7 separate regions of the Homo sapiens genome follow, and all the other regions are linked to region 1. The links are contacts of gene promoters, found by promoter capture Hi-C in blood cells and fetal thymus (Javierre and others, 2016). All regions are on one chromosome and are shown on one strand. Each heading gives the region's core, a stretch centred on a gene start or on the middle of the fragment in contact. The rest is flanking DNA. Distances are from core to core; before and after follow the strand shown. Region 1 holds the start of SP140 (SP140 nuclear body protein). Region 2 overlaps CAB39 (calcium binding protein 39). Region 3 has its middle 140 kb from the start of SP100. Region 4 overlaps LOC112268431 (a long non-coding RNA gene). Region 5 has its middle 81 kb from the start of LINC01907. Region 6 has its middle 100 kb from the start of LINC01907. Region 7 has its middle 23 kb from the start of LINC01907.

Region 1 (3,551 bases), core at 14-2,513:
TCCTCCTGTATATTTTAAATCATCTCTAGACTTATAATACCTAATACAATGTAAATGCTATACAAATAGTTATACTGTATTTTAAATTTTTATATTACTTTTTATTGTTGTTATTTATGTTTTTAATTTTTAGAAAATATTTTGCATTCATGGTTGGTTAGATCCATGGATACAGAATCCACAGATAAGAAGAAATGACCGTATTGATGTACTTGTCTTTTTTTTTTTTTTTTTTTGAGATGGAATTTCACTCTTGTTGCCCAGGCTAAAGTGTAATGGTGTGATCTTGGCTCGCCAAAACCTCTGCCTCCCTGGTTCAAGCGATTATCCTGCCTCAGCCTCCTGAGTAGCTGGAATTACAGGCATACACCATGACACCCAGCTAATTTTGTATTTTTAGTAAAGACAGGGTTTCTCCACGTTGGTCAGACTGGTCTCATTGTCTTACATTTTTTAAAGATGATTTCCAGGCTTCTCTGACCAGATATGTAAAAAATACCAGAACAGAAGAATAAAAAAAGCAGAAGCAGCACTCACTCTCTACCTGCTTGCCTTTTTTGTTGGGTCTCATCTGCTTTCACTTCCTCCTACCAAGTATTCAGAGATCCTGAAGTGATTCTAGGGCTAAGAGCCACATAGATGGGCTCAGAGCAGAACCGGTCCCCAACTACACAGCCTGGAAAGTGTGACAACAGACAGGCGTTTGGATTTTAATTCTTCTAAAAAGATCCTTTTTAGACAGAGTTGTCTTTTGGAGTGGGGATAAAGGAGGCCTGGGGGAGAAGAGAGGGTTCAGAGGTCACGGGGAATCATCCAATCCTACACAAAGCCTCAGAACAGGCATGATGTTCAAACAGCTCCAGTCCAGCCATTTGCAGATGTAAGAGAATAGGAAGATGATGTGAGTCACGGCATCCTTGAGTTTCTCCAACAGCCAATCCCTGCAATTTAAAAAATCTGATTGCCTCGTTATTTATTTGTAACTGAATTCTATTGTATACCTGTAGAGTGAAGCTGGGTAGACATTAAATAACAAGTATGAAAGGGAACCCTACCAGAGATGAAGGACAGACGGGAAAGGAGACGATGACCCACCTGAAGTTGAGATTGCTGTCTCCACTTGCCATCTGCCCCTGCTGGCCCTGCTGGGCCATGAGCTTGGCCTAGGATCACACCCGATTCGATTTTCACTGCCCCGTTCCTTCCTGCAGCTCTGAGGTGAAGCTGCCAACTGCCCCTCGGTGCTCAGTCAAAGAGGAAAAGAAAAGTGAAATTGCCTAACTAGCTGACGTGGGTGCACCAACTCTACAGTCCTCCCTCCACCCAATCTCCATGACGTCTCTCAGTCAAGGGAGGAGGAGCAGAGCCAGCCCCACGAGGCCACGGAAGACAGGGTCACTTGTTCCTGCCAAGGAAAGAGGGTGGAAAAGTCATTCAACTCAAGCAGATCAAAGTTGTTTTGAGGTAAGGTGGCATCATGAGGAGGAAGTAAACTCTGTATTTGTCCCCACCCCTTGCTGAGGTGGCTGAGAAGGACAAGTGAAGACCAGACATTTCAAATCTTCAGTCAGGCTCCAGGGCTGGCCATGCACCTTAGTGAGCCTGGGCTGGATGGCTTAGGCCCAGTGTTTGGACATGGGGCCAGGGAGAACTGAAATAGCATGCATTAGAAAGTGGGGGAGATGCTCTTAGCACTCCATGAAAGCAGACAGAGGTAAAAGACAACTCTCTCAACTCCTCCAGCCAAAGGCAAGTGCTGAGGTTGGGCAGAGAAATGAGGTGCAATTCTAAGTTTTCTCAAATATGTGGGCACTTTACAACAGCAGCCAGGGGTGACTGGGAAAAAAATGAGCTTCAACCATTTCACTGAAATCTTGAGGAGAGTGACAGCCTTCTCACTGGATGGGGAAAGGGTTTGGAGCTGAGATTATCTAGACCTTCAAGGACAATATGATACAGGAGGATAGCTGTATTACATTTATGTTTGCACACAATTTTTCATTTATACCCAGCCCTCATTCTGTAAAGGATTTGAAACAATTTACAAAAACACACTATATCAGCATAAAGTCGAGTGATAAACAAATGGAAGCAAAGGGCAAATATAAAAAATATAACCACAGGACTAGAAATCCAGGCAGAAAAATGGGTCAAAGACAGGGGGCTGATGAGAGCCAGGGTATGGGTAGAATCCAGGGCCAGTGACAGAACAGTAGTGAGGATTGAAAAGCCAGAGGCAAAGCAGTATTTTTCCAAAACATGTGCTCCTGAATCCTACTTTTTCTGGTTCATTACACATATGCAAGGAAATTTGCATACATAAGTTTGCAAAATACAGAGTGCAAGAAATTTCTACCCCTTCCACACTTCTGCTTTCTTTCTACCAAAGGAACAAACACCAATCTGGTTGAGACAAACTCTAGAACACTGATGAGGACACCTTTTCCAGTATCTCTCTCTCTCTCCTCTCTCTCTCTCTCTCTGTCCTCTCTCTCCTCTGTCTCCCTCTCTCTCCCTCTCTCTCCCTCCCTCTCCCTCCCTCTCCCTCTCTCTCCCTCCCTCTCCCTCCCTCTTTAAAACAAGAAGGAAAAGTATGCTGGGCTTCTGTTAGACACAGCTGTCCTCTCCTCCCAGTCTCCATGGGGCTCCAACAAGGCCTGGTACAGACTATACCGCCTGCTCCAGCATCCCCTCTCTCTCTTCTCTCTGCCCTTAGGCAGTAGGCAGACCCAGGACACCAATGAACTGGACATTTTTGAAAATGTGCCAGCTTCTTTTGCTTATAAGCACAAGGCCATTGGTGTTCCTCAGCTGACTGGTGGTAAGATTGGTACTTCAGGGGTACTGCTGCTACTACTAGAAAGCCCTACTTTGCAACACCATGCATTAGCCCAGGTAAGGATAGCCTGAAATTTCAGTTCTATTTCCCACTATCTTGTTTTTCCCTATGCTCACTACAGAACCTCTCCTGGGTAAGGGATTCCTGGGCCAGGCATATGTAGGACCATCAGACCATCTCTGGTTCCCAATGTCTTCCTTTACTGCCACGTGACCAGTGGAGTCAGAAGGCTCCGGCCTGCCTCCTGGCTCTGTTCCCCCATCCAGATTTAGGCCAAGTAGGTCATAATCCCCAAAGGTAAATCAATGCTTTCATTCTACCTGGAAGATTTCTCTTCATTTTGCTAAGCATGCTAGAATCTGACACCTGGAATTGGGGAAATGAATTGTATAGAGTCTTGATCACAATCCAGTGCTGTAATTTAATTTGCCAACTTACCCCTATTTGCCCACAACTCCAAAATTCCTGACTCTGAACGCTAATGGGGATGTTCACTGTTTTTATGTCCAATTATGTCAGATAACCAATCCCAGATTGATCATATTTCCTTGAATATCTCTTGCCTATAATTCAACCTCTGGTGCCCAACATTTTTATCAGTCAGGATTTGGGAGTAAAAGTAATCCAAACTGACTCTGGCTAACTCAGGCAAAAAGTCAATTTCTTAGAACTATATTGGGTAGCTCACAGAATGTATGGGAAAGCCAGAGGA
Region 2 (3,858 bases), core at 837-3,336, 490 kb before region 1:
GACAACATAATTAGCCATGGAGTCAGGACCCAGCCCAGATCTTTCGATTCCCAGGCTTCTGTGTTTCCCACTGTAACACAGGCCTCCCATCTTCTCTACAAGAATAATGTAGAAATTAAATACTATCTACTGGCCTAACTAAACTATAAGCCACTAATCAAATTATGACTATACAACGAAAGCATTTATAATAAACCATCTCTTTTAGATTGTAATGTGGTTACTGCTTGGAAACCTATTAAAATCCAAATTCGGATCTATTTATAAACCTCCATTCTAAAATACTAATTCAAAACTGCTCAGCAAGGAAAATAAAATTATTTCATGAGGGAGTCATACCCTATTTCAGGGAGCACATATTTTGAAGTGAGGCAGACCTGAGTTCAAATTCTGGCTCAACTGTGCAATGTTTGTGTTATCCTGGACAAACCCTCCACTTTGGTTTCCCATCAATGATGTTGGGGACAATACTACCTAAGAGGTTTGCCCAACATTTAGTGGACCTAAACGGTAATTTGTTCCCCCAAGCTAACTAATTTTTGTTAATTTTCCTTGATTCTTTGTCTATTTCGACTTCTAACTTCATACACGCCTCCCAAATCACTTGCCAGCTACATCACAAATATTATGAATATTAGTATATTAAACCTTAAAAAAGAATTATATGACAAAGAACATTTAATATATTTTGAATACAACCTTTGTAAATGTTAGTGAAAAGGTCCAAAAGAAGACATTACTGCATAAAGTATGATACTTAATTCAAGTAAACTGGACAAAGAATGAAGAAAACCAGGCTCCAGATTCAGTCCTGTGGCTAATAAGCCATAAAACCCTAGAAAAGAGACTTCACTTTGCAGAAAGCTACACCTGTTACTGCTCAAAGTGAACCAAACTCTGCTCTAGTTACGGTGGGCCTCAGTGTTCCCACCTGCAGAAAGAACCATTCTGCCTAGGTTGTTTCTGAAGTTCTAAAGTTTCTCCCCCCTGGAAAAGCCTATCATGAGCATCACAAAACTTATGTCTAGGCATCTGATACACGGCAGCACATCAGATGTAGCAACTCATTTAATCGTCCTACAACCCTCTCAGATATGGTCTACTATTACCATCCAAGGAATTCAAGCTAGACAGAAGGAACTTAAGGTTATAGAGCCCACAGCAGAGGAATGAGGGTTCAAAATCTAGGCAGTCTGGCTGCACCTGCGCTTTTAACCACTGGCTAACACTACCTCTCCAAATTCTATAAACCTAAAAGCGGGCCTTAACTACAGACATGTAAACAGAAACCTGTCCAAGTATTTCTTCCTAGTGCCTCAATACAGCTGATATATAATCTACTGTGGAGGGAGACAACAGTGACTAGCATGTTAATAGTCAGTACACTGTAAAGAGCAAGTTACAGTTCATGAGACAAGATCACAAAGTAGGAACTTAATTAAGATCAAGATACACAATGTATGTTTTGTTTCTCAAATGTATTACCAAATAAAGTGTGTGATCTTTTAACAGTATCATACTTCCGTGGTCCTCAACAATTTTTGCTGGATAATGCTCCCAAAGAATAATTACCATATAAAAACAAACTGCCACTAAATAATGGCTAGATTTTCCCCATCTTTGAAACATGCATATGAATACACACATAAACAAGCAAACACAATCTATAACTTAAACACTATATTCTGAGTACCAAGACAAAAGCTATTAAAGATCATACAAATAGGTATGCACTGGATATGGTCAACATGAAGGGCCAAGGCAGGATTTACCTCCCTCCTTTGGAGCCACTTCACACCCGAATGACCTCCCGCAATTCTCTGCATGCCATCCTGCCTTCCTCTGCAGGCTTAACATCACAGCTGCTATAAACCACAATTCTGCTGTCCCCTCACCCCTTCTGTTTTAAAAGTTAAAAGCACAGTGGGACTGGGAAGCTCAGTGAGACAGAAATGGCACAACACCCCCCAAAAATGCAGATGGCAACTAGCTGTTAACCTGATTTCATCACCACCAGTCTATGATCTGCCACCTAGGCCTGTAGTAACTCTTCTCATAATCCTCGGAGGGCCTGAGAAACAGAGGCAGAACACTGATCATTTTATTCACAGACTGTTCTACTCTACAAATGGTGACGGCAGAAGTATTTGCTTCACTTTGCTCTGCCCCCATATTCCGGACTGTAGAGATGAGGGGAGTTGAGTCCAGTCTCTCTTTCTCACTGCAAGACACCCTTGCAGGAGAATTTTTTAAAAAGTAGTGGTTGGGATCCGGTCGGAAAGTCACTAAGGGCACAGAACGTACGAACTCTCACACAGCTCAATTCCTTCTGTAATTAAAGAAGGCTCTAATACAAGTCTTCTTACAATGGCCAAAAGATACTGATGACTAAATTGCTATGCAAATTTAGATTACCTGACTTCATAATAATGCCAGATCTTTACACCTCAGTAATAACAAGTCACAAGTAATTTAACCCAGAGATTCAGATTTGATATTTTTTCCCCACAATTTTATCAAAGTGTGTAAAAAAAAATGTTTACCAGTTTTTCTGTTATCCAAATTAATCCACCTTCCACAGTCCCATTTCTGTAACATGTAAAGACGTTCATAAAATCAAATGCCCAATTAAAAGAAGCAATGAAAAAGAGGAAAATGAATTTTTATTTTTATTATTTTTATTTTATATATACATTTTTTGAGATGGGGTATCACTCTGTCACCTCAGGCTGCAATGCAGTGATCAAAATTCACTGAGGCTGCAAATTCCTGGGCTCAGGCAATCCCTCCTGCCTCAGCCTCTTGAGTAGCTAGGACAACAGGCACACACACCACCATGCCCGGCTAATTTTTTATTTTTGTGGATATAGGGTCTTGCTATGTTGCTCAGATCGGCCTCCAACTCTTGGGCTCAAGCAATCCTCCCACCTTGGCCTCCCAAAGCACTGGGATTATAGGAGTGAGCTACCCCGCTCGGCCTGACCTTTTAAAATAGGGCTGGAGGCCAGTGTGGTCAGGCCTATAATCCCAGTGCTTTGGGAGGCTGGGGCAGGAGGATGGCATAAGCCCAGGAGTTCAAGACCAGCCTGGGCAACAGAATGAGACACCATCTCTTTTAATTAAAACATTTTTTAAATTAAAAAATAAAATAGAGCTGGAATAGAAACAATGCCAGAAAGGTAAACAAAAGACAATACCTGAAACAAAATTCGTCCTACTACTGAATTTTATTTTTGGGGGTTGGGGAGGTTGGATTTGTGTATTTTCATGGCAGATGGCTAAACTGTGAGTGATTAGTCATCAATCTGGAAAAAAGGCTCTTGGGAAAGTATGGCAATAACTAAAGAAATCTGTAATCCCACAAAAGTTGATCAAAACAGAAAACTTTAGTAAATATTCCAAGGTAATAAAGACCCTGTGTGGCATACGTATTTGCAATATACAAACATTCAAATAAAATCAAGTTACCAAACCCCATACTTATACTGGACTTTCTTAGCAGTTCTTCTACATTAACTTTAGGAAACGTATACAGCCTTACTCAGCATCTTACTTCATACGTGATGAAACAGAAACAGAGATCTTATTAATACACCTTAGAATGTAAAATACATGGGAAAAAACTGACTTAGTACAAGAACCTGAAGTAGAAAATGCTAATGAAGGGAAGTAAGCTGCCTTGAAATAAAAAAACAGATATCCAGGCAAGCGTGGTGGCTCACGCCTGTAATCCCTGCACTTTGGGAGGACAAGGCGAGATTACTTGAGCCCAGCAGTTCAAGACCAGCCTGGGAAACATGGCAAGACCCTGTCTCTATAAAAATACAAAAATTAGCCGGATGTGATGGTACGAGCCTG
Region 3 (3,888 bases), core at 868-3,367, 330 kb before region 1:
ATAGATATTAGAAGTAAATATACTTTGGGAAAAGCCACTTGGAAAACAGAAAAGCCAATAAAACTCTTAATATTCATATAAACATATTTTTCTTTACAAAAGAATTATTCTAATTGTTTGCTGCATATGTTACAAATAGAAAATAATTCCTTTTGATTTTGGAAGATTCATGTAATAGTAGTAGTTAGCTTGCTTTGTAGTAGTTAAATTAGGCTATCTGCTCTAACAAATAGACCCCAATATATATAACATCCTCAAACAAAATTTAAGTTTATTTCTTTTAAAACAGTCTAATGAGTTACAAGTTGGTGAGATGGGAGGGTTGTTGGGTTGTTGGGGGCTCTCTTCCATGTAATTATGCATGGTCTCAGACTGATGGAGGTTTTGACACTCATGGCTTCCAAGGGTGTCCTTACTTGGAGACTGCCATCCAGTTCATGGCAGAGGAAAGATTGTGGGGCAGTACGTGTAAGAAGCTTTTATGGGTCAGCCTTGGAACTAGGCACATGTCTTCCTCAGATGTTCCTCTATCTAGAACTCGGTCATAGGCCACTCATACCTGCAGGAATTCCTGGAAAATATAGTTTAACTGTGTGCCCTGGAAGAAGAGGAAAATACAGTTTGGGTAAGCAGCTAGCTGTCTCTCCTATACACTTTCTATCTTGTCCTCAAGTATCACCCTTCTTCCGATCTTCCCACATATAGAACCCCTTACCCTCTTTCTTCCTGCCCCTCCCTTACAGGAGATAACACAAACTCCCATATAATTACTGCACACAGGCCAATATCCACTTACTTTGTGTGAAGTACAGTTCTCCCTATCAGGTCTGGATGATGTTCTTGATGTTTTGGTGACCTTTTAATAAGTTTGTCTTCCCTTACTGTACTTCCAATATACAATGTTTGATGAGTGACAGAGTAATCCCAATACAACTACTATCTAGGAAGTGGAAAAATGGGAGACAAACAGTGGCCAATGGTCTATTATCTAAATCTACCAGGCTGTGATTAAAGGGGTCCCTCTCCTCTAGCAGTGGAGGAATTTGGAAATTTCTTGACTTTGATTCTGCTCTTTTGAAATAATTCTCCTGACCGTGCCCTCTATTTTTTTTTTTTTTTCATTTTCTCTTTCAATTTCCTTCTTGGCCACCTCTGAAGTATCCACTGGGGGACACACCCTTCTATAGCACTGTATGTATTCACAGCTTTTTTCTGCATGTTTAAGTTTGGATGACTAAGGGTTTTATTAAGGCTTGAACAGTACTTGAAAAGTACTTTATGTTCAGGTTTATGGTTCTTTCAGTGATTTTATTAAAGCTTGGTTGGCTTTTCATTGATTTATTGTCCATGAATTCCACATATTTATAACAACATCTAGAGTTCTGTTCTAAACTTAATCCATAAGCCTGATTTATTTCTTAACTTTTCCCTCCCAAACCAAATTTCTCTCTTAGTTGAATGGTACTCCCTTGAGGCTATCTGATGCCAGGTGGTTAGGTGTCAAGGCTTTGCTTACTTTGAAATTTACCTCAGTGCTCAATTCCTCTGTTTAATCGAGAAACCCTAACTAGCTTTTTGTTGCTCAAAGCCTCTTTCAGTCTCATCTCTTACTCTTCGGAGTTCTTTTGGCTTCTCCAACCCTACGAGAACCCACTTTTCTGTACTCTCTTGAGTCCCATTCACTTTTGTTCTCAAATGAATCAATTATTGCTGGAGCTGATCTCTTAACTGTAATAAGCCTTCAAACCCAGTGAGTGGTAACCAACAGACTCTATTGTTAGTGTTTTCCAATTCCTTTTCCTAGAGCTACAGGACTTAGAGGCATTAAAAAAATGTTTACCTTTTGTGATATATCTTGCAAGAAATCTGTCATGTTTTGCCATTGCCTAATAAAGGAAACCATTTTCCATGCTCTGATATAAAATTCCTGATCACTAAGCCATTTTTATTATGGCAACACCTCACTTCCAGTACTAGTTTCTTTCTATTTATTTATTTATTTATTTATTTAGAGACAGGGTTTTGCTCTGTCACCCAGGTTGGAGTACAGTGGCGCCATCCTAGCTCACTGCAGCCTCGAACTCCTGGACTCAAGCAATCCTCCTGGCTCAGCTGGAATTACAAGCATGGGCCACAGCATTCTCATCACCAGTGCCAGTTTTCATTATGACTTCTATATTCAATGTTATAGGATAATAGCTGTTAAATGGACCAAAAACTATGTAACAGCTCAAGCAAAATTGAGGCTTGTTTTACATTCTTGTAAACAAGGGGGTTCCATGTTGATAGAGGATGGGATGGATGGGCAAAGCTCTATTTCACCTGTTTGAGGACTGTGGTTGGTGGAGGCTGTAGTGCCTTTAACACATAGTTTCCAAGGCTTCCATATATGAGGAAAAGAGCAGAGGAAGAGGAAATGTGTAGAATGATTTGAAAGGGTAGGATATCAGAAGGGAGCAAAGTGTAAGAAGAGTTTTACAAGACAATGCAAGTTGCCTATTGTGGGTAAGTTTTTCCCAACCTTTCTGATCATCCCTCAGATGAATCAAAAAGCAGACTAATTTAGCTTGTGGGTGGGTATATTCTAGCCTGGAACTTTTCGAGGTCTTTTCTAGGTTTCTTTTTTTCTTCTTTTTTGTAATATGGCATTTTCTTCTGAGTTGGTTATCACCAAAACCCCTAAAGAATTCTATTACTTTCTCCTATGATCAGCAGTTGTTATCCTTTAGGAAATAATAATAAAGAATAGGGTCAAGAAACAAAATTCCTCACCAAGAATTTGGCCAGGTAAAGAAGAAAAAGATTGTAATTAGGAGTCTGAACTTTCTCAGTGCATCCACATGAAAGGGATCCAAGCAACTCACTGGATCCATTCTCTGCATAATTATAAAGTCCATGTTTAACAAATGGAAGCTTTGAGTCTGTGTATTCATATGTTGATATTTTATTTTAAATATGCTAGCAAAATTATGAGGCTTTTTCATTTTCATTTTAAGTTCTGGGTACATGTGCAGGATGTGCAGGTTTGTTACATAGGTAAATGTATGCCATGGTGGTTTGCTGCACCTATCAACCCATATCCTAGGTATTAAGCCCCGCATGCATTGGGTATTTTTCCTAATGCTCTCCTTCCCCTCACCCCACCCCCAACAGGTCCCAGTGTGTGTTGTTCCCCTCCCTGTATCCATGTGATCTCATTGCTCAGCTCCCACTTACAAGTGAGAACATGCGGTGTTCGGTTTTCTGTTCCTCCATTAGTTTGCTTCCAGCTCCATGCCTGTTCCTGTGAAGGACATGATCTCATTCTTTTTTATGGCTGCATAGTATTCCATGGTGTATACATACCACATTTTCTTTGTCCAGTCTTTCATTGATGGGCATTTGAGTTGATTCCATGTCTTTGCTACTGTGAATAGTGCTGTAATGAAAATACATGTGCATGTATCTTTGTAATAGAATGATTTATATTCCTTTGGGTATATACCCAGTAACTGGATTGCTGGGTCAAATGGTATTTCTGGTTCTAGATCTTTGAGGAATCACCACACCATCTTCCACAGTGGTTGAACTAATTTACATTTCCACCAACCATGTAAAAGCGTTCCTATTTCTCTGCAACCTTGCCAGCATCTGCTGTTCGTTGACTTTTTAATAATTGCCATTCTGACTGGCATGAGATGGTATCTCACTGTGGTTTTGATTTACATTTCTCTTATAATCAGTGATGTTGAGCTTTTTTGTTTGTTTGTTTGTTTGTTTGACAGAGTCTTGCTCTGTCGCCCAGGCTGGAGTGCAGTAGTGTGATCTCGGCTTACTGCAAGTTCCGCCTCCTGGGTTCATGCCATTCTCCTGCCTCAGCCTCCTGAGTAGCTGGGACTACAGGTGCCT
Region 4 (4,018 bases), core at 1,320-3,819, 350 kb before region 1:
TCACATAGGACCATGGCACCACTGTGCCTCCCATACAAACCCTCACCCATCATTCCTGGGGCAGGCAGCTAGGAGCTACCTTTCAGGTGCCAGATGGGCCTCTTCAAAAACCCTTCAGTACTTTTGTGCCATAACTAGCTTCTGTTTCTAGATTCTCAGTCATCTTCTTGTTTCTATTTTTCCTAATGTCCCTCATCCTTAGACCATAATGTCCATAACAAATTTTATTTCTTTGTTCAGTGTTTTATGATCACTTTTTCTGAAATGACATAGAAGAAATATAAGAGAACCCTCAGAGCTGTGGAAGGTCATTCTGATGTCATTGACAATCGGGATACATGATCAAAAAGGATATTTGATTAATTTATTAATGCATTTAAATAAAAACTTTAGGTTTTGATTTATGATGTCACAGTGCCATATTTATGAAATCATAATGTCATCTAGGGGCCATCCATTCTGGAACCAGAACAGAAACCTCTGAGCCTGTCTAGGATGTGAAGTCAACATATATAAAGCCAGAATGTTCTATCCTTGGCCCAGGTGATGCTCTTGGAACACAGCAAGCAAACACATGCACCCAAGTAGGTAAGGCTGATGATGGCCAGGTGTTTGCATGGGTGACTAGTGGTAGGCGTCTGTAGCACACACAGAAGGGGGAAGGCAGTGCTGTGTCACATGCTCAGTATCTAAGGGGAGACCCCAAGGAGTCCTGAATGACAGTAGAAAGATAGACCAATGTCCACTGCAGGCAGACATTGACGTAATGGAAAGGTATGTCTTTTAGTTGCTGTGAGGAAGACAGAAAAAGACACGGAGACACAGAGAGAACAGGACTGGAGCCTGATATGTAGGTTGGAAGAGATGTAGAAGGAGAGAGTTGGGAAGGGAAAATGGAGAATGAGGAATGCATTCTCCTGCAGCATTGCTGGAGAGGAGAGAGACAGATGCACCGGAAGACAAGAGAGAAGCTGGCTAAGTCCATGATGCAGAAATGCCTTCCTAGGGCAGAAGCCTGGGGATTGGATCCTGGTGGAAGGCTGAGCAGGAGAGAGAGAGAGAACCAGGTCTGACAAGATGGGAAGAGGCAGAGCAGGGCTTGGCTGGATCTCAGCAGGGGTCCTCGGAGAGGAGCATCACTTCCCCAGGAGCATTTCACTTCTGCTCCCAACCGCAGCGCTCAGTGTGGTCACATCTCTGTCCTTTTCCCGGCCACTGGATCTGGTGTCTCATTTTATGTTCCCTCTTCAGTGCCTAGGGAACTCGAGGCTCTCCAAGTAAAAAAGGAGAGAGGGTCAGAAGAGATGCCCAGCAGACTGCCACATGGTAGACAAGGTACTGCAATTGAATCCTGCCCTTTAAGTGACCGATTACCTGATTATCTCATGGTGTGGAGGGAGGAAGGGCTTCTCTTCCTCCCCTCCCTCCCCGACAGGAGCCCAGCCTCTGGTTGCTTTCAAATTTGTGAAGGAAACAAGCAGGATGAGGCATGTGATGTGCGCGGGCTGCAACACTGTGAGAGGCACTCACTGGCAGGACCCCGAGAGTACATGCCCTAAGTCTTCCAGGCAGGAGAGAAAGGAGAGGCGAACGCCTCCCTGGAGCATGGCACCCTGGGTGGAGAAGCTGAGGAGCGCGAGTATAGAAGAGGTGGATGATTGGGCCATGGAATAGCAAGTTTTAGGAGGGAGCCCAGTTTTACCTAAGTGGACATGATGTCTAAGCTTTCCCAGGTTGGTGGAGGATTGACAAGGAAATAATGTTTGTCCTATTTGCTAGAAGTTGCCACAAGATCAGGCAAACAAGGTCTGTGACCATCATATTTGCAAGGAAGAAAGGTCATTGTAGACAACCTTCAGAATGGGGAGGGCAAGGGAAAGGGGCCCTGGAGGTAGAGTTAAAGCCAAAAAAGGAATGGAGGGACACGACTTTTCAGACAAGGAGAAGACACAGGAAGAAAATGCTTGGAAGGGTCAAGGCAGACAGAGGATCAAAGGAAGCCCCAGAAACACAGAGACATGGGGGAGGAAGTGAGAGACATGGCAGAGGAGACATAAACTAAAAACTCAAATGAGGGACAGTGAGAAAAATCATACAGAGAGAGAAACATGAGGTCAATGTAAATACCAGGAACAGAGAAAGTGAGGGAGAGGCACGAAGAAGCCAGGAAGTGAGAGTGAGTGTAAAGAGCAAATAAAAAATTGGTGGGGGTCAGTGTGGCAGCGAGAGAGGAGACACATTCTTCCATGAAACCACATCCTCATCCTTTTCCCCTTCCTCCTCCTCTTCCAGAGTTCCCTTTCTGGTAAAATGGCCATTACTGTCAAGTTTTCTCAAGCAAGAAATTCAGGAATCTTGCCAGGCAAGTGGCTCACACCTATAATCCCAGCACTTTGGAAGGCTGAGGCGGGCAGATTACCTGAGGCTGGGAGTTCGAGACCAGACTGACCAACATGGAGAAACCCTGTCTCTACTAAAAATAAAAAAATTAGCCGGGCATGGTGGTGCATGCTGGTAATCCCAGCTACTCGGGAGGCTGAGGCAGGAGAATCGCTTGAACCTGGGAGGCGGAGGTTGTGGTGAGGGGAGATCGCACCATTGCACTCCAGCCTGGGCAACAAGAGTGAAACTGTGTCTCCAAAAAAAAAAAAGAAAAACTCAAGAATCCTCCTGAGTTCTTCCCTCCCTCAACCCCTATGCCACATCAACCATCGAGCCCGGTGCACTGTACTTGGTGGCATTTGCCACCTGATCATTTTTCTCTATCTCTGATGCTATGATGCTAATCAGATCTCTGATAACTCTCCCATGAACTTCAGCTGCTATATCGTACCAAAGTTCAGGTATGTTTGTGCTGTCTTCCTGCCTAACCTCCAATGACTGGCATGATGATACCTGGGTTTAAGTTGATCCCTTTACTAGACTTCCAAGGCTGGGCAATGAGGGCCCTTCCTATTTCTCCAGCCTCTATTCTCTCACTCCAAGAAGTCACGCTGGCTTCTTTTAGTTACTCAAATTACTTTGCCCAAGCTGTCTTCTATCAGGGTCTGTTTTCTTGGCCTCTATCCTACTCATCTTCTCCCTAATCTGGCTACCTCCTGCTCACGTGATATTTCTTCCCATAGGCCTCTTCCTGTCTCTTGGACTGGCCTGTCTGTTCCAGAGCACTTCTTGCTTGCTGTGAGATAAAACTCCTGCCTCGTTGTGATCGTGTGCTTAGCATGCGCTCTCTCTGGACCACAGCTGCTTGTTCTCGCTGTGTCCTTCCAACCTAGCATGACAGTGTCTGGCACATAATAAAGAGCACACTTCATATTGTCAGGAAATGAAAGTATTCATATTTCTGTGCCCTAAAAACTGGACATATATTTTGGCGAACATGACATCACTGATGTATTTGTATGGAAAGCTTCACAAAAATAGTTCTAAGAATTATATTTATTTATTTTTAATTATTTATTTTTGAGATGGAGTCTTGCTCTGTCATCCATGCTGAAGGGCGAGTGCAGTGGTGCGATCTCGGCTCACTGCAACCTCTGCTTCCTGGGCTCAAGCAATTCTACTGCTTCAGCCTCCTGAGTAGCTGGGATTACAGGCATGCACCACTATGCCCCACAAGTTTTGTATTTTTAGTAGAGATGGAGTTTTGCCACGTTGGCCAGGCTGGTTCAAACTCCCTACCTTGGGTGATCTGCCTGCCTTGGCCTCCCAAAGTGCTGGGATAACAGGTGTGAGCCACCACACCCAGCCTAAGAATTATATTTATATGTACATGTACACGTAATAAGCTACTTTTGTGGAAATAAGTATAAGAATTAAGAACTTAAGGTCTTTATTTATTTATTTTTTAATTAATTAATTATTTTTTTTTGAGAGGGAGTCTCACTCTGTTGCCCAGGCTGGAGTACAGTGGCACAATCTCGGCTCACTGCAAGTTCCGCCTCCCGGGTTCATGCAATTCTCCTGCCTCAGCCTCCCAAGTAGCTGGGATTATAGGCGCCCGCCACCACGCCCAGCT
Region 5 (3,553 bases), core at 867-3,366, 390 kb before region 1:
TTTTTAACTTGGTTCCCTTCTCCCTGTCACTTTCCAGTACAGTAATCAAATGTATATTTGGTCTTTTCACATAGTCTCATATTTCTTGGAGGCTTTATTCGTTTGTCTTCACTCATTTTTCTCTAATCTTGTCTTCTTGCTTTATTTCATTAATTTGATCTTCAATCACTGATATCCTTTCTTCCATTTGATCGAATCAGCTATTGAAGCTTGTGCATGCATCACGAAGTTCTCGTGCCATGGTTTTCAGCTCCATCAGGTCATTTAAGGTATTCTCTAGTATTTATTCTAGTTAGCCATTCATCTAACCTTTTTTCAAGGTTTTTAGCTTCCTTGCAATGGGTTAGAACACGCTCCTTTAGCTTGGAGAAGTTTGTTATTACTGACCTTCTAAAGCCTACTTCTGTCAACTCTTCAAAATCATTCCCTGTCCAGTTTTGTTCCCTTGCTAGCGAGGAGCTGCGATCCTTTGGAGGAGAAGAGGCGCTCTGTTTTTTGGAATTTTTAGCTTTTTTGCTCTGGTTTCTCCCCATCTTTGTGGTTTTATCTACCTTTGGTCTTTGATGTTGGTGACCTACAGATGGGGTTTTGGTGTGCATGTCCTTTGTGTTGATGTTGATGCTATTTTTTTCATTTGTTAGTTTTCCTTCTAACAATCAGACCCCTCAGCTGCAGGTGTGTTGGAGTTTGCTGGAGGTCCACTCCAGGCCCTGTTTGCCTGGGTATCACCAGCAGAGGCTGCAGAACAGCAAATATTGCTGCCTGATCCTTCCTCTGGAAGCTTTGTCCCAGAGGGGCACCCGCCTGTTTGAGGTGTCTGTTGGCCCCTACTGGGAGGTGTTCCCCAGTCAGGCTACATGGGGGTCAGGGACCTAACTGAGGAGGTAGTCTGTCTGTTCTTGGTGTTCAAATGCCATGCTGTGAGAACCACTGCTTTCTTCAGAGCTGTCACACAGGGACATTTAAGCCTGCAGAAGCTGTCTGCTGCCTTTTGTTCTATTATGCCATGCCCCCGGAGGTGGAATCTATAGAGGCAGTAGGCCTTGCTGAGCTGAGGTGGGCTCCGCCCGGTTCATGTTTCCAGGCCTCTTTGTTTATACTGTGAGCTAGTCAAGCCTCAGCAATGACGGACTCCCCTCCGCTCGTCCAGCTACAGCATCGCAGGTTGATCTCACACTGTTGTGCTAGCAGTGAGCAAGGCTCTGTTGGCATGGGACCCGCTGAGCCAGGCATGGGAGGGTATCTGCTGGTTTGCCAGTTGCTAGGACTGTGGGCATAGTGCAGTATTTGGTCAGAAGTATACCATTTCTCCAGGTACAGTCTGTCATATGGCTTCCCTTGGCTAGGAAGGAGAAATCCCCCAACCCCTTGCACTTCCCAGGTGAGGCGACACCCTGCCCTGCATCAGCTCACCCTCCATGGGCTGTATCCACTGTCCAACCAGTCCCAGTGAGATGAACCAGGTACCTCAGTTGGAAATGCAGACATCAACCGTCTTCTGCATTGATCTCGCTAGGGGCTGCAGACTGGAGCTGTTGCTATTTGGCCATCTTGGAAGTGACCTTCTCTTCTCTTCTCTTCTCTTCTCTTCTCTTCTCTTCTCTTCTCTTCTCTTCTCTTCTCTTCTCTTCTCTTCTCCCCTCCCCTCCCCTCCCGTCCTCTCCCCTCCTCTCCTCTCCCCTCCCCTCCCCTCCCTTTCCTTTCTCTTTTTTTCTTTCTCTCTCTTCCTTTCCTTTCCCTTTCTTTCTTCCTTTGTTTCCCCTTCATTTCCTTCCTTCCTTCCTTACCTCCCTCCGTCCCTCCTTCCTTCCCTCCCTCCCTCCCTTCTCTTTCTCTCTCTTTCTTTCCTTTCTCTCTCTCTCTCTTCCTTCTCCTTTCCTTTCCTTTCCCTTCCCTTCTCTTCCTTCTCTTTTCTTCTCTTTCTCTTTCTTCTGGGCTTCACTCTTTTGACCAGACTGGAGTGCAGTGGCATGATCACAGCTCACTGAAACCTGCCTCCCAGCCTCAAGCAATCCTCCCACCTCAGCCTCCTGAGTAGCTGGGCCACAGTTGTGAACTGCCATGCCAAGCTAATTTTTGTATTTTTTGTAGAGACAGGGTTTTGCCATGTTGTCCAGGATGGTGTTGAGCTCCTGGACTCAAGAAATCTGCCTGCCTCGGCCTCCTAAAGTGCTGGGATTACAGGTGTGAGCCACTGCAGCCAGCCAAAAAATCTCTTCTTATAAGAAGAAAGAGTGTAAATGGGTTGAGAATGACAATTGCAAAAGGAGTCACTGGGTGTCATATTGAAATGACTTCACAGTTTGGGCTGCAAGTGTTTTGATGGTGTCTCTGGTCAATATGTCTGTCTTAGCCATGACCTGGAAAGTTCTCTAACTTAAGAGTTTAAGACAACAAGTCCAGGCGCAGTGGCTCATGTCTGTAATCCCAGCACTTTGGGAAGCTGAAGTGGGCAGATCACTTGAGGCCAGGAGTTCAAGACCATCCTGGCCAACATGGTGAAACCTTGTCTCTACTAAAAATACAAAAATTAGCTGGGCATGGTGGCAGGCACCTGTAGCTCCAGCTACTTGGGACGCTGAGGTGGGAGGATTGCTTGAACCCGGGAGGCGGAGGTTGCGGTGAGCTGAGATCACGCACTCCAGCCTGGGTGACAGAGTGAGACTCTGTCTCAAAAAAAAAAAAAAAAAAGACAACAGAAAATTAATAGATATAGGAAGCCCCAAGATGAACTTCTGATTTCTGATTCTTCTTGAGTCAAAACTCACCTGAGCAGGGCTTTGGAATAGTTACTTCTCTGGTCCCACCTGGATTTCTCTTTCATTCTGTTCCAGTTCAGCCCATTTGGTTCCAGGTGTCCTACAGAGATGCTGCCCTGCCCTGTGTAGCTGGGAACTCCCTAACTCAATGTTCAATGGCAGGAACATTTCAGTCTCTGTGCCTGCAGCTGTTCCAAGTTAAATAAAACCCTTTTTCAGCTGTGATGGAGAGTACTTTGCTCTAGTGCTTTCTGCAAAAATACTTGTTGCCAGTTATTTATAAGTTTGGAAATGAAATGATTTTTTTTTCTTTTTTCTTTTTTTTCCAGACGGAGTCTCGCTCTGTCACCCAGGCTTGAGTGCAGTGGCGCCATCTCAGCTCACTGCAACCTCCACCACCCGGGCTCAAGAGATTCTCCTGCCTCAGCGTCCTTAGTAGCTGGGATTATGGGCATGTGCCATCACGCCCGGCTAATTTTTGTGTTTTTAGTGGAGACAAAGTTTCACCATATTGGCCAGGCTGGTCTTGAACTCCTGACCTCAGATGATCCGCCCGCCTCGGTCTCCCAAAGTGCTGGGATTACAGGCGTGAGCCACCCCGCCCGGCTAAGGGAATTCCTTTCTTATGATGTGTGTTTATTACACACAAATATAAAGGGCATTAAACTTCCTGTGTAACTCCCTTAAGCTTCTTCCCTAAGGCTTGGAGATTTTCTCTTTTAGCATTTTACTCTTGTGAGCTGTTAAAGTCCCCTGGCAACTTTATGAACTGATTAAACACTCTCTTCAACTTT
Region 6 (3,643 bases), core at 619-3,118, 370 kb before region 1:
TCCCAGCTACTGGGAAGGCGGAGGCAGGAGAATCGCTTGAACCCGGGAGGTGGAGGTTGCAGTGAGCCAAGATCATGTCACTGCACTCCAGCCTGGGACACAGAGTGAGACTCGGTCTCAAAAAACAAAAAACAAAAACCCCCAAACCCCCCAAACTATTAAGTTTTGCAGCCAAACCTCATTCGTCCTGGGTGTGGCTGAATCCAGGGAGGAGGGGAAAGCTCCATTATGCGGGCTTCAGGCCCACACCTGTGCCACTGTTTTGCCGTCACCTGAAACCAGCAGAAAAAGCAGCTCAACTGTGGCTCTGAGAAACTTCTGATATTGGTCATGACATTCATTCTCTACAAAATCCCACTCTCAACTAAGCTGAGCCTCCCTGCCCCCGCCAATTTATTTTTCTGTCCCCAGTTATGCTCAGCGCTATTGTCTGTCCCCACGCTCCAGAGAGCAGCATGTGATAGCTTAGTTGGACTAATTAACACGAAGCTCCACATTCAAATAACATGAGTCCTCTCCCATTATCATTATTATTATTATTTATTGTAGCAAAGTATACATAATAGTTATCATTTCATTGTTAATATATATGACTATTTAGCATTATCAATTTCTCATTTAGTCATTTGTAAGTGTGCAATTCAGTGGTATTAAATACATTCACAATACATTCGTGTAAACGTCACCACTATTTCCAAAACTTTTTTGTCATTCCCAATGTAAACTCTCTACCCGTTATACAAATAACACCACATTCCTTCCCCCTCCTCCCATCCCCTGGTGACCTCGATTCTATTCTCTGTTTCTATGAATTTGCTTATTCTAGGTACCTCAGATCAGTGGAATCACACATTTGTCCTTCCATGTCTGGCTACTTTCACTTAGCCCAGTGTTTTCAAGGTCCATCTACACTGCAGCACATATCAATATTTTATTCCCTTTTCATGGCTGAATACCATGCCATTGTGCATGGCCACTGAATGCTCTTGTAAACATGGGTATGCAAATATCCAAGGTAATGCTTTCACTTTTTACGGCTATACCGTATAACTAGAAGTGTTGGGATTTATAGGGTTAAGCCACTGTGCCTGTCCTTAATTTACTTTGGATATATACCCGGTAGTGGGAATTGATGGATCCTATGGTAGTTTTTTTTTTTTTTTTTTTTTTTGAGACTGAGTCTTGCTCTGTCACCCAGGCTGGAGTGCAGTGGTGCGATCTCGGCTCTCTGCAACCTCTGCCTTCCGAGTTCAAATGGTTCTCCTACCTCAGCCTCCCGAGTAGGTGGGACTACAGGTGCATGCCACCACGCCTGGCTAATTTTTATATTTTCAGTACAGATGGGCATTTCACCGTGTTGGTCAGGCTGGTCTGAAACTCCTGCCTTGGCCTCCCAAAGTGCTGAGATTACAGACCTGAGCCACCGTGCCCCGCCCGTATTTTTTATTTTTTGAAGAACCTTCACGCTGTTTTTCAGAATGGCTGCAGGAATTTACATTCCCACCAACAACATTTAAGTGTTTTCTTTTCTTTACATCCTTGCCAACACTTGTTATCTTTTGACCTTTTGGTGATAGCCATCTAACAGGTGTGAGATGATATCTCATTGTGGTTTTGACTAGCATTTCCCCGATGTTTAGTAATGTTGAGCACCTTTTCATAAACCCCTTAACCATTTGTATATCTTTTTTGGAAAAATGTCTATTCAGGTCCTTTGCCCATTTTTCAATTGGGTTATGTGTTTTTTTTTTTTTTTTGCTATTGAGTTGCATGAATTCTTTATATATTTTAGATATTTAATCCTTATCATACACCATAAATACCCCTACTCTGTACTCACAAAAATTAAATTAAGTATATTTAAAAAAGATATTAAAACTAAAGAAAAAACACTTATCAGATATATGGCTTGCAAATATTTTCTCCATTCTGTAGGTTGCTTTTTCATTTTGTTGATTATTTCCTTGGCCGCTCTGAAGTGTTTTAGTTTGTGGAAAATCCCCTTGTCTATTTTTGCTTTTGCTGCCTGCGCTTTTGGTGTCATATCAAAAAAACTTTGCCAAGACCAATGACATGGAGCTTTTCTCTTCTTTTCTTCTAGAATTTTACAGTTTTGGATCTTACCTTTAACTCTTTAATCTATTTTGAGTTAATTTCTGTGTATTGTGTAAGATAAAGATCCAATTTCATTCTTGTTGCATATGGATATTTCATTTTTCCAACATGATTTATTGAAGATACCATCATTTTCTCGTTGTGTATTCTTGGTGCCTTTGCTGAAGGCTAGTTGACCATGTATATATGGGTGTATTTCTGAACTTTCTATTGGGTTCCATTGGTCTATGGGCCTGTTTTATTTATTTATTTATTTATTTTTTTGAGACGGAATCTCACTCTGTTGTCTAGGCTGGAGGGCAATGGAGTAATCTTGACTCACTGCAACCTCCGCCTCCCAGGTTCAAGCGATTCTCGTGCCTCAGCCTTCCAAGTAGCTAGGATTACAGGTGCCCACCACCATGCTCGGCTAATTTTTGTATTTTTAGTAGAGATGTGGTTTCATCATGTTGGCCAGGCTGGTCTCGAAATTCAGACCTCAGGTGATCCACCTGCCTCAGCCTTCCAAAGTGCTGGGATTACAGGCATGAGCCACCATGCCCGGCCTATGTGTCTGTTTTTTATACAAGTACTATACTGTTTTAATTACAATATCTTTGTAATATACTTTGAAATCAGGAAGTGTGATGCCTCCATCTTCATTCTTCTTTCTCAAGATTGCCTAAGCTATTTGGGGTCTTTTTTGGCTCCACACAAATTTTAGGATTTTAAAAAAATTTCTGTGAAATACATCATTGAAATTTTCATAGGGATTGCCTGAATCTGCAGATCACTTTGTATAGCATGAGCATTTTAATGGTATTAATTATTCTGTTTGTGTCTTCTACAATTTCTTTCATCTGTGTTTTATAGTTCTTATTGTACAAATCTTTTACCTCCTTCGTTAAACTTATTCTTAAGTATTTTATTCTTTTTGATGCCAGTGTAAATGGGAATGTTTTCTTAATTTCATTTTCAAGCTGTTTGTTGTTAGTATATATTATAGAAATGCAACTAATTTTTTATTTTTATTTTTTCTTTTTCAAACTTTATTTTAGATTTGGTGGTGGGGGGTAGATGTGCAAGTTTGTTACAAAGGTCTATTGTGTGATGCTGAGGTTTGCAGTACGATTGTATCTGTCATCTAGGTAGTGAGCTTAGTACCCAATAGGTGGTTTTTTAACCCTGGCCCTCCTCCCTCCCCTCTCTTTAGTCCCGAGTGTCTACTGTTCCCATCTTTATGTCCAAGTGTGTCCAATGTTCAGCTCCCACTTATAAGTGAGAACATGTAGCATTTGGTTTTCTGTTTCTGCATTAGTTTGCTTAGGATAATGATCTCCAGCTGACCATGTGGAGAATCATTTCTTATTGCTGTGTAGTATTCCATGGTGTATGTGTACTACAGTTTCTTTATCCAGTCCACCACTGATGGGCACCTGGGTTGATTCCATGGCTTTGCTATTGTAAATAGTGCTGCAGTGAACATATGGGTGCATGTGTCTTTTTGGTAGAATGATTTATTTTCCTCTGGGTGTATACCCAGTAATGG
Region 7 (3,972 bases), core at 606-3,105, 450 kb before region 1:
AGCTGATACTTTGCCTAACACATCAAGTGCTGAACTCTTTCTCTTGCAATTTAAGTCCCAAGTCAATTAGGGTTATATCTGTATTAGAAATGGTACCTTTTGGCCGGGCACAGTGGCTCATGCCTGTAATCCCAGCACTTTGGGAGGCTGAGATGGGCGGATCACCTGAGGTCAGGAGTTAGAGACCAGCCTGGCCAACATGGTGAAACCCTGTCTCTACTAAAAGCTACAAAAATTAGCCAGGCGTGGTAGCGGGCACCTGTAGTCCCAGCTACTTGGGAGGCTGAGGCAGGAGAATAGCTTGAATCCAGGCGGTGGAGGTTGCAGTGAGCCGAGATTGTGCGATTGCACTCCAGCCTGGGTGACAGAGCAAAACTCCGTCTAAAAAAAAAAAAAAAAAAAAAAGAAACGGTAGCTTTTGGTGTATTTGCTGTCAAGAAGTAATATGTTTCCTTAGACCTTCTTGTTTTCTCCCCGTTTCCCCCTCCCTACCACCTTCCCTACCTTCTTCTTTATTCTTTGTCTCTCTCACTGTCTCTACCTACTCTTTGGTGTGTGTTTCTCTCTCCCCAGCCTCTCCTGGGAATTTTATTGCTGGAATTGCAGGGAAAGACATGCCATGTAGCTTGTTTATTTCATGTTTTATCAGTCTCTGTCCCACATACTGTAGGATCTATGTCCCATAAGGGCAGGTTTTTTTTTTTTCTTTCATCTCTTTTATTCTTTTAGTGACACACCAACATAATTGAGTAAGTTACATTGGCTTAAGAACTTTATGGGTCACAGGCATGGTGGTGCATGCCTGTAGTCCCAGCTACTCAGGAGGCTGAGGAGGGAAGATCCTTTGAGCCTAGGAGGTTGAGACTGCAGTGAGCTGCAATTGCACCACTGTACTGCAGGCTGGGTAGCAGAGCAAGACTCTCTCTAAAAACAAAAACAGAAAGAAAAACAAAACCAGATTACTTTAGAACTTAAAGGATCTTCTTGGAATTGTGGACAAGGCTAGGTTTCCATCTGTGGTAGGGCCTTCCTTAAATGTCTTTTTCATGTAATCTTGTGGTTTTTCTAGTTCAGGGGTGTGGCCAGCAGCTTCTGACATGGCCCCCACTAGTTCTCCTCTCCTGGTATTCATGTTTTTGTGAAATCCCTTCCCCTTGTTTGTGGGCTAGACCTAGCTAATTGCTTTAATTAATTGAATACGGCAAAGGTGATAGGATAACAATTCTAAGAGTAGGTTATAAAAGATTGTGACTTCTATCTTGTTGCACTCTCTCTGGCTCTTCTCACACATTTGCTCTGATGAAGAGAGCTGTAGAGGCCCATGTAATAAGAAGTTGAGGGCAGCCTCAGCCTAACAGCCCTGCCAACAACCCTGTGAGTGAGGCTAGAAGTAGCTCCTTCCCCAGCTGAACCTTCCGATGAGACCACAACCCCAACTGACACCTTGTGTTTTTTGTTGTTGTTGTTGTCTTTTGTTTTTGTTTTTGTTTTTGTTGTTGTTTTTGAAACAGGGTCTCACTCTGTTGTCCAGGTGCCACTCAGCCTCTCAAAGTGCTGGGATTATAGGCATGAGCCACTGCACCTGGCCAACACTTTGATTCCAGTCTTCTGAGATGCCCTGAAACTGAGGACCACCTAGGCCATGTGTGGTCTTCTGACCCACAGAAACTGTAAGATTTTAAAATGTGGCCAGGCATGGTGGCTCACACTTGTAATCTCAGCACTCTGGGAGGCCAAGGCTGGTGGATCACCTGAGGTCAGGAATTCAAGACCAGCCTGGGCAACATGGTGAAACCCATCTCTACTGAAAATACAAAAATTAGCCTGGGGTGGTGGCGAGCATTTGTAATGCCAGCTACTTGGAGGCTGAGGCAGAAGAATCACCTGAACCCACGAGGCAGAGGTTGCAGTGAGCCAAGATTGCGCCACGGCATTCCAGCCTGAGCAACAGAAAAAAACTCCATTTGAAAAAAAAAAAAAGAAAAAGAAAAAGAAAAAAAAGAAATCCATAAAATTAGCTCAAGTTACAAGAAGGAAGGGTTGTTATGAGGATGAGGCACCTCTGAGACAGCCACAGGCAGGACACATTCTGGCCAGTCCCAGCCTCTCTTTCTCTCTTCCAACTCTCTCTCTTGCCTCCCTCTCTGTCTCTCTCTTTCTGCCTCTTGGCCTGCAGCATCACAGCCTCTCCCTGCCTGCATTTGCCCCAGCCTCCTCTTGGCAGCAGGGGAGCTTGGCCCTACATGTGGTGCTGACTTCACTCCACATCACCTCCTAACTGCACCACCCACAAGCTGGATTTCAAGCATCAGCAGCTTCGCCTCTCAAACTGCACTCACTTCCACATCCCAAGAAGAAAGTGACTGGCCCACTTTGGGTCAGGGCTAATCCATGGGCAGATGGGGTGTGGGCACAGTAGAGGGATCTTCTGGGACACAGGGTTGCCTATCTAAGCTGAGTCAGGAAGGAGGAGAGCATACCCACCTCCAGTATAACTGATTAAAAAATAGGCCGGGAGCGGTAGCTCATGCCTGTAATCCCAGCACTTTGGGAGGCTGAGGCAGGTGGATCACCTGAGGTCAGGAGTTTGAGACCAGCCTGGCCAACATGGTAAAACTCCGTCTCTACTAAAAATACAAGAATTAGCCAGGTGTGGTGGCACATGCCTGTAATCCCAGCTACTTGGGAGGCTGAGGCAGAAGAATTGCTTGAACCTGGGAGACAGTGGTTGCAGTGAGGCAAGATCCTGCCACTGCACTTCAACCCAGGCGACAGAACGAGAAAAAAAAAAAAAAACAAGACAAAAACCCAGTACACTTCTATAAAGCAGCACTAAAGCTGAGCCCTCTTCCTCATGCCCAGAGCCAGCCTCCCTGAGTAAACTGTGGTTCCTATGAAACCATCAGGGCAGCACTCTTTTCCAGTGCCTCTGTCATTAATGCTATGTTGCAATTCATACGTTTGTTGAAAATTAGAATGCTGCATTCGTTGATTTGTTGTCTGAAGGGTTCTTCCTTAGGGCTTATGGCTCTACAAATGATATTGGCTTGACCCCCAGAATTAATTTCAAGAAGGCCTGAGCTGGTAGGTGTTGCTTGCTTAGTCCTGGGAGCCTATCCAAGCCCTGCCTTGCCCTTCTTGGACCCTCCCTCCTTGGTGACCTGTTGGGCACTCTGGGGAGAAATAGGTGCAGACAGCCCAGGGATCTCTGGGCTGTAAAGGGCAAGTGGTTAAGTATGTGGCAGCACTAGTGAAGAAGACTACTCAGCAGGGTGCCTGGCTAGGCGTGGGGACCCAGAGAGAAACACAATCCCATGCTTGTTCTGAAGGAGCACGCCGAGCTGTGAGAGAGGCACACACATACGTGACCATCCCACCATCCCACGTGCCTCACCCCCTTTGCTGCTTTCTTTGTCGTTACAGAATTTTGAATTTGACATGCCATGTAGCTTGTTTATTTCATGTATTATCAGTCTCCGTCCCACATACTGTAGGATCTATGTCTTATAAGGGCAGAGTTTTTTTTTTCCTTTCGTCTCTTTTATTCATGGTGGCATCCCTAGTGCCCAGGACAGGTACAGAGTAGGTACTTAAGTATTTGTTGAATGAATGAATGAAATACTAGGAGCAAGGTCTTTGCAGGGTGCTGGAGAAGCTGGAGGATTCAGAGACAGGTTTCTGCAGCCAATGTGCCTAAACTGCATCTCTGAGCCTCAGCCAGGTGAATACAGGTGGGCAGAGGAAAGAGGGCCGCACAAACAAAGGCATAGAAGGAAGGCACAGCCTGCTGCATATATGTCTGGTCCCGGCTGGCTGTCCTCAGAGCAGAAGGCTTCGTGATACGGATGCAGCCATGATTAACTGGGGAAAAGGGACCCAGGTGGATAGATGCTAATGGAGTGAAAGGAGAGCCTGAGCTATAGGCATCCCCTCTTTGAGTGGTTAAGGCTGGGTGACACACAGGTTCCCATC

Evidence for each region. Contacts are between HindIII fragments. The CHiCAGO score rates a contact against its expected background, and 5 or more counts as called.
Region 2: a contact is called between a fragment that was not itself captured here and the fragment with the promoter of SP140 in region 1, in 12 of 17 cell types (total CD4 T cells, non-activated CD4 T cells, neutrophils and 9 more). The highest score is 11.7, in total CD4 T cells.
Region 3: a contact is called between a fragment that was not itself captured here and the fragment with the promoter of SP140 in region 1, in 10 of 17 cell types (neutrophils, naive CD4 T cells, naive B cells and 7 more). The highest score is 11.5, in neutrophils.
Region 4: a contact is called between a fragment that was not itself captured here and the fragment with the promoter of SP140 in region 1, in 11 of 17 cell types (total B cells, naive B cells, naive CD8 T cells and 8 more). The highest score is 10.9, in total B cells.
Region 5: a fragment that was not itself captured here is called in contact with the fragment with the promoter of SP140 in region 1 in 9 of 17 cell types (total CD4 T cells, non-activated CD4 T cells, total B cells and 6 more); the score reaches 8.9 in total CD4 T cells.
Region 6: a fragment that was not itself captured here is called in contact with the fragment with the promoter of SP140 in region 1 in 8 of 17 cell types (naive CD4 T cells, total CD4 T cells, activated CD4 T cells and 5 more); the score reaches 9.4 in naive CD4 T cells.
Region 7: a contact is called between a fragment that was not itself captured here and the fragment with the promoter of SP140 in region 1, in 2 of 17 cell types (non-activated CD4 T cells and neutrophils). The highest score is 5.7, in non-activated CD4 T cells.

The regions. Positions count from the first base shown.
Region 1 is chr2:230,223,448-230,226,998 of GRCh38, reverse strand. SP140 (SP140 nuclear body protein) reads right to left here and starts at 1,263. Exons shown (of 27, transcript NM_007237.5): 1 at 1,096-1,263. The coding sequence starts at 1,154. It also overlaps a transcript of SP110 not described here. RefSeq lists enhancers at 674-723, 744-823, 894-943, 1,174-1,383. The HindIII fragment of the contact is 6,572 bases long and covers 1-3,551 here.
Region 2 is chr2:230,715,841-230,719,698 of GRCh38, reverse strand. The region is part of intron 1 of CAB39 (calcium binding protein 39); the gene reads right to left. Among named protein-coding and RNA genes, the nearest start is that of CAB39, 4.9 kb to the right of the region's middle. The HindIII fragment of the contact is 4,922 bases long and covers 1-3,858 here.
Region 3 is chr2:230,554,567-230,558,454 of GRCh38, reverse strand. No RefSeq gene overlaps it. Among named protein-coding and RNA genes, the nearest start is that of SP100, 140 kb to the right of the region's middle. The HindIII fragment of the contact is 1,596 bases long and covers 1,320-2,915 here.
Region 4 is chr2:230,576,471-230,580,488 of GRCh38, reverse strand. It overlaps LOC112268431 (a long non-coding RNA gene), which reads left to right. Exons shown (of 5, transcript XR_002959453.2): 2 at 448-588; 3 at 1,252-1,335. Among named protein-coding and RNA genes, the nearest start is that of LINC01907, 120 kb to the left of the region's middle. RefSeq lists an enhancer at 1,955-2,094. The HindIII fragment of the contact is 1,685 bases long and covers 1,727-3,411 here.
Region 5 is chr2:230,617,267-230,620,819 of GRCh38, reverse strand. No RefSeq gene overlaps it. Among named protein-coding and RNA genes, the nearest start is that of LINC01907, 81 kb to the left of the region's middle. The HindIII fragment of the contact is 2,666 bases long and covers 784-3,449 here.
Region 6 is chr2:230,598,416-230,602,058 of GRCh38, reverse strand. No RefSeq gene overlaps it. Among named protein-coding and RNA genes, the nearest start is that of LINC01907, 100 kb to the left of the region's middle. The HindIII fragment of the contact is 8,478 bases long and covers 1-3,643 here.
Region 7 is chr2:230,675,657-230,679,628 of GRCh38, reverse strand. No RefSeq gene overlaps it. Among named protein-coding and RNA genes, the nearest start is that of LINC01907, 23 kb to the left of the region's middle. The HindIII fragment of the contact is 6,143 bases long and covers 1-3,972 here.